2 separate regions of the Homo sapiens genome follow, and region 2 is linked to region 1. Evidence: promoter capture Hi-C in 16 types of primary human blood cells and fetal thymus (Javierre and others, 2016). All regions are on one chromosome and are shown on one strand. The core of a region is centred on a gene start or on the middle of the fragment in contact, and the rest is flanking DNA. Distances in the headings are between cores, read along the strand shown. Region 1 holds the start of TEX12 (testis expressed 12). Region 2 has its middle 31 kb from the start of IL18.

Evidence for each region. Contacts are between HindIII fragments. The CHiCAGO score rates a contact against its expected background, and 5 or more counts as called.
Region 2: a contact is called between a fragment that was not itself captured here and the fragment with the promoter of TEX12 in region 1, in 1 of 17 cell types (neutrophils). The highest score is 6.2, in neutrophils.

The regions. Positions count from the first base shown.
Region 1 is chr11:112,165,908-112,168,975 of GRCh38, reverse strand. TEX12 (testis expressed 12) reads right to left here and starts at 1,604. Exons shown (of 5, transcript NM_031275.4): 1 at 1,489-1,604. It overlaps TEX12-AS1 (TEX12 antisense RNA 1), which reads left to right and starts at 1,833. Exons shown (of 3, transcript XR_001748384.2): 1 at 1,833-1,913; 2 at 2,800-2,900. The HindIII fragment of the contact is 2,594 bases long and covers 1-2,327 here.
Region 2 is chr11:112,131,845-112,135,334 of GRCh38, reverse strand. No RefSeq gene overlaps it. Among named protein-coding and RNA genes, the nearest start is that of IL18, 31 kb to the left of the region's middle. The HindIII fragment of the contact is 8,771 bases long and covers 1-3,490 here.

The DNA of each region.
Region 1 (3,068 bases), core at 355-2,854:
ATCTGGTGCAAGCCTACTAGTCCCATCATTTTCAACTACTCCTCTCTATGTACTTAGCCAAATGAGTCTCTCTGGCAATTCTGCCTTGTTTCAGGACTGGCTCAGTTAAGATTCTTTTATCTTCGGCCGGGCGCGCTGGCTCACGGCTGTAATCCCAGCACTTTGGGAAGCTGAGGCAGGAAGATCACCTGAGGTCGGGAGTTCGAGACCAGCCTGGCCAGCATGGTGAAACCCTGTGTCTACTAAAAATCCAAACATTAGCCAGGCGTGGTGGCAGGCGCCTGTAATCCCAGCTACTTGGGAAGCTGAGGTGAGAGAATCGCTTGAACCCAGGAGAGGGAGGTTGCAGTGAGCCGAGATTGTGCCATTGCACTCCAGCCTGGGCAACAGAGCGAGACTCCACCTCAAAAAAAAAAAAAGGATTCTTCTATCTTCACAAAATCTTAATGTTTAAACAGGTCTTACAGTTCATCTAATTCAATCTCATTTTTTACAAGTGAGAAAACAGGGACAGTGACGGTGGATCAAGTGACACCAGTAAGACTGAGCTAAATTAGAACCGAGATCTCACTCGAGTCTGAGGTTATTCCCACTGTCCAACCTTACTTTAAAGTAGCTTCAAATTTTACTTTTACTTTTCCATAAATTCGGAAGGGATTTTCCCTAGGAGTCCAAATGTTGAAACCTGGAAGGGTATAGTCTCTGTGTCTTTGAGATGAGGGGAGCCCTGTCCATATTCAAGTTATCAATTGACTTTGTTGTTTTTGAGAAACGATGCTGATTTGGGTAACTTTAACACATCTGTTTGATTAGTCCTATAAAATATGCATATATAGAAGACAGAAAGAGCAACAACAAATTTGAATGATGCTTGTTAAGTAAATTCTGTATCGTACGTCTCCATTCCTGCCAGTACCTTTATAGTATGTAAGTTTACGTGCTGTAATAGTATTAATAGTATCTAGAAAATACTACACATGCACAGCAGTGCTAACTTTGCCTTGGGAGTTGGAAAATACTTCAGAGAAGCCAACAGGCAGATTTTTCTCTCTTCCCTTCCCCTTCTAATTTTCCCTTTCCCCTTCACCCCCTTCTCTTCTCTCCCCAAGTAACACTGTGCACCTATGTCAAACGAAAACTTATAATCAAGTAACTGTTTCTGCAAAAATAAGTTCGTTTTCCTGTCATGGCTCAAGGCCTCAGCAGATCCAGGCCTGGTGGACGGGCTGGTCTTCGTCGTGTGCCAAACACTGACCACTGCCCTGGCTCTGCCATCTTAGGCTTAGTGACCTGGCTGTTACTAAGCACTGTCCCCTCTGCCCCATGCAGCTGTCTCCTTCTAGTCTTCTCCCTCTTCTCAACGCGATCCTAGCCCCTCAGGCCATTTCACCTCCATTTTCCCTCACTTCCCGCCGCCCCTCCGCACTTCCTCCCTACTGTTGTTTCCGCCCCACTAGAGCCCCTCAGAGGAAGTTTCCATCCTCGCACCCTTCCTTGTGTCACAGTCCGTCACATTCTCACAGGCGCCCATCCCTCCAGCCCCACCCCAAGGCCAATGTACTTCGCGGTATGGGGACCTTCCTCGTCAGCGAACGCGAGGGAGTGAAGACCCCGGGCGCGGGGTGCTCGGACTTCGGGGGTGGAGGTGGGAAGCGCGCCGCACTCCCAGCAGCCCCTGCACGAGTCACGTGACAGCTCTCCCACCACCACCCCCCCCAACTTCCCCACCGTAGCCTCCCAGAGCCAGGCCCCACGGAAAGGCAGCTTTTTCCCGGTTTTCTCCCGCTCTTTCCCCTCCACTTGGAATACTCGTGAAACAAAAATCTCTCCCTGCCACCCTGTGTGTGTTTGAACCAGGAAAAAATCTGAAACTGGTCAAGAAAGAACAAGGAAGACTTGCCAAAGCAAGGCCGGTGTGTGTCCCAGCAGCTTAGAATCTCAGCAAAGGAACACAAAATAGCACATCCACGGCCTCTTTTCGAGTAAAATTTACTTGGTTTGTTTGCAGGAAGGGTTTAAAACTGCGTTTGCAGATGCTCTGTTTGCAGGAAGGCTTTAATCACGTGTTCCCCTGGCCCACAAGCAAGGCTTTTAGATCCAGAGCCTCAGTTACTGCCCCCTCTTCCTCTTTGGTGCAACCAAACGTTCAGAATCACGCCTTCTTAGAAAATTCTTCCCCGGGTGTGTCAATAAGTTAAGTCTAATTGGCAACAGCTATCAAAAAGTGTTGCATAACACACATGGCTCACATAATTGTAGCTTTGCCTCATCGGGTGCTTTAATGCGGAGGCTTTGACCTGCAATTTCAAAGATATACATTCCAAGCTTACGCCCAGTTAGTGGATGTGGAAGAAAAAAAAAAGCAAATTACCTCATAACACAAAGGTCAATAACACACATCCATAAGCTCCAGGTACAAAATCTTACATCTTAGAGAACTATATTTAACATTTACATACATTACTAAGGTTTTTTTTTTCCTTTTGCTTGATTAAATGTTAGTTATCATTAAGTCTTGGAAGTATTCTGTGTGTGTATATTTATTTGCTGTTTGTGAAGAAGCCGGTTGTTTTAAATAAGTTCCTAGAAAATAAGCGCTCAATGTGTTTAATCTGAGTTGCTAATATTGTGAAATATAGGCCACATAATACTAGCCTAGATAACTATGGCGAAGTAAGGAGTCTCAAACACTGTCCCAGAACAATAGCAATCTGTGTTGAATTTTTACCCTCTGTGGTAAAATGAAGGGAAAAGGAATGAAGTTTTAGTTTGCCTTAATTTTTATCTTTATTGTTTCAGACTCTTCAGCAGTATAAAGTTTTCATCAAGTCAAATATATTCACTTTAAAGTGACTGTGCTTTATTCTGATACCATGTCCTTCCTAATTTGGGGGGCACAGGTGAGATAAGTTTTATGAAATAAAAAGATTAAAAATTCTTACATTTTTAGTGTCCTTCCTTGGTAAAATGTAGAGTTGTCCACTGTGTTTATCTCCTCCTCCTTATTATCATGGTTGCTGTTATTATTTTTAATGGTTCATTAAACCCAAGGGTCTGGGAAATACTCA
Region 2 (3,490 bases), core at 175-2,674, 33 kb after region 1:
GTCCCAAAACCAAGTACAAAGTGTACTTTGGACACAATCTCTCTGAGGCTTGGTTTTCTTACATGTAAATGGGAATGATAAGAAATACCTACCTCATAAGATGGTTGTACGGATTAAATGAGATAAAGCTCCCAGTGGTATCTGGTACTGGAACACCATAGCTAAGAAGTATTATTTCCCGGCCGGGCGCGGTGGCTCACGCCTGTAATCCCAGCACTTTGGGAGGCCGAGGCGGGTGGATCATGAGGTCAGGAGATCGAGACCATCCTGGCTAACAAGGTGAAACCCCGTCTCTACTAAAAATACAAAAAATTAGCCGGGCGCGGTGGCGGGCGCCTGTAGTCCCAGCTACTCGGGAGGCTGAGGCAGGAGAATGGCGTGAACCCGGGAAGCGGAGCTTGCAGTGAGCCGAGATTGCGCCACTGCGGTCCGCAGTCCGGCCTGGGCGACAGAGCGAGACTCCGTCTCAAAAAAAAAAAAAAAAAAAAAAAGAAGTATTATTTCCCTTCCTACACTTCTCCATACACCCACCACTCACCCCCACCAGACCTCACACACTACACATCACGTGCAGGAGAGAAAAGAGGCCTTTCCTCCCTACAAGAACTAATCCCACCCTGTTTTATGTCATTTCTCTTCCTGCACTGTGTAAACTCATTTCCCACCCTAAAGGAATAAAAGCATCATTGCCTCCTGTCTTTCTGGCTCGTAGCCGTATGTTGCTTTTGCCCTATCTTTCAACACATGGGCTTTATAACTGAAAGAAAATGTCAGGACATAAAAGCCTGCTTTGTTTTGCATGTTTGTTTTCCAAATTTTACACTTTTGATTTTGTTGCACACACACACACACACACACACACACAAATCCAATTTTACCTAATCCATAGAAAATAGCACTTCACAGCTTGGAATTTTGCTAAATCTATGATCGTTTCCAGATTCACAAAACCCATATAACTGAACAAATTTTTTACTCACATCTGCAGTCCTGCTCAAAATTTAGCCTTGATTTTTTCTTCTGATGGTGATAGCAAACGTTCATGGATGGGTCCTTAGGAGTGGACCGTGTCTTTTGTCTAGGACTTAAATTCAATGTATCTCACAGAGCTCAGTTCAGGGAACTAGGAAGTAAAAAACAATCAAAGGTGTAATCCCAGCCCTTTGGGAGGCTGAGGTGGATGGATCACCTGAGGTCAGGAGTTCAAGACCAGCCTGGCCAGCATGGTGAAACCCCATCTCTCCTAAAATACAAAAATTAGTCAGGTGTGGTGGTGCGTGCCTGTAATCCCAGCTACTCGAGAGGCTGAGGCACATGAATCGCTTGAACCTGGGAGGCAGAATTTGCAGTGAGCTAAGATCGTGCCACTGCACTCCAGCCTGGGTGACAGAGCAAGACTCTGGTCTCAAAAAATAAAAAACAACAACAACAACAAAAATCAAAGGCATAGGCAAATTTGTGTCAAGATGCTGTGACATTCCACCTTCCCCCACAGAATCCCTCAACTGATACACAAAGAAAGCACTTTCTCTTTTTGGTTCTTAGACTGCAGTATGAACTACAAGACATTTTCAGAATCATTAACTCACTTTTTTAAAGCCTTTAATTAAAAAAAAAAAAAAAAAGATGGTTGGAGATATGTCCAGAAAGCTCTCAAATATCATATTTCTCCTAACACAATGCCTTTCAAGACTGGAGGCACACATTGGGGCAGAGCCTTGGGCCTTCCACCGGGACCCTGCAACAGGAGGGATAAGAGCAAGCACAAAGGGAGAGGAGGACTTCTGGGTGGCTGGTTGGGAAAGACTTCACAGAAAAAGTGTCACTTAAGCTAACCCATGAAGGACAAGAAGAATTTCTGAAGACACATGTGAGGAAGGACTGTTTCCTTCGAGCACGGGAACTTGGATTTGTGGAAGTTCTCTCTGTAGGTCAGAGCCCTAATTGATATAGCAGGTATGAGTCAAAGTCCACAAACTGATGTGTAAGAAATGCAACTTTATTTTCTATATTTTAATTTCTTCTCCAAGTTCTCATTATGCTGAGGGTAGTGGAAACTCAATCTGAGTAATCGCTGGGTGCCCCTCTTTCTACATAGTTGTATGTAAGTTCCACAGGGTAAATAGTACCAAGGTGCCAGGGACAGGGTGAGTAGGGATCTGATCCTTGGTCAATACTGACAATCTCTGAATCTGCTGAGATGTCTGGCTACTGAGCAGAGCCTCACTATTGTCCACAAAGCCCTTTTAGGAGCATAGCTGTCTCCATTTCCACAGCTGCTGACCCAGGATCCATTTCACCACCTCCGTGATAATGACAGGCAGGTGATTGGGGTGGGATTGGCATCCACCACCACCCCTCCCTTCTGAGGCAGGAGATCAGCAGGACTTGCTTCCCAGGCACCAGTCATGACCCCGCTGAACAAAACAGTCTGGTCAGAACAGGATGTGGTAAAGAACCCAGCTAAAACCAAGATGGTGACAAAAGTGACCTCTAATTACCCTCACTGCTCATTATATGCTAATTATAATGTATTAGCATATGAAAAGACACTCCCACCAATGCCATGACAGTTTACAAACACTATGGCAATGCCCAGAAGTTACCTTATATGCTTTAGAAGGGGAGAAACCCTCTATCCCAGGAATCCTCACACCTTTTCTAAAAAATATGTGAATAACCCACCTCTTATTTAGCATATAATTAAGGAGTAGCTATAAATAATATAGCTAGCTAGCAGGCCAGGTGCGGTGGCTCACACCTGTAATCCCAGCACTTTGGGAGGCCGAGGCAGGTGGATCACCTGAGATCAGGAGTTCGAGACCAGTCTGGCCAATATGGTGAAACCACATCTCCACAAAAAATACAAAAATTAGCCAGGTGTGGTGGTGGGTGCCTGTAATCTTAGTACTTGGGAGGCTGAGGCAGGAGGATCACTTGAACCTGGGCGGTGGAGGCTGCAGTGAGCCAAGATTGTGCCACTGCACTCCAGCCTGGGTGACAGAGCAAGACTCTACCTCAAAACATACACACACACACACACACACACACACACACACACACACACAAATATAGCTAGCCAGCAATCCACAAGTGCTACTCTGCCTGTGGAATAGCCCTGCTCTGTCTATGGAGCTGCCATTTTCCTGTACTCTGTTGCTCTAAGAAATTTGCTTTGCTTTCATTTTAATCTGTTGGCTGGCTCTTGAATTCTTTCCTGCACACAAGAACCTTCCCAGGCTGAGCCCCAATTTGGGGTTCACCTGCATCACTACCAGTTCCACTGGTGGCTCCTGCTTGACTCAGGCTTAACCCCTCCTTCTTGCCTTGATAGCATGTCCTCATTACAGTGGTTCTTTTAGGGCTGAGCATGTGACTGAGGTTGGTCCAAACTGAAAAGTATTTCTGCGTGGTTGGGAGAAGACACATTCTCTTTCTGAACAGGCAGGTGTGAGGCTGGAGCTGACTCAGCCACCTTGCTGTTAGGAGG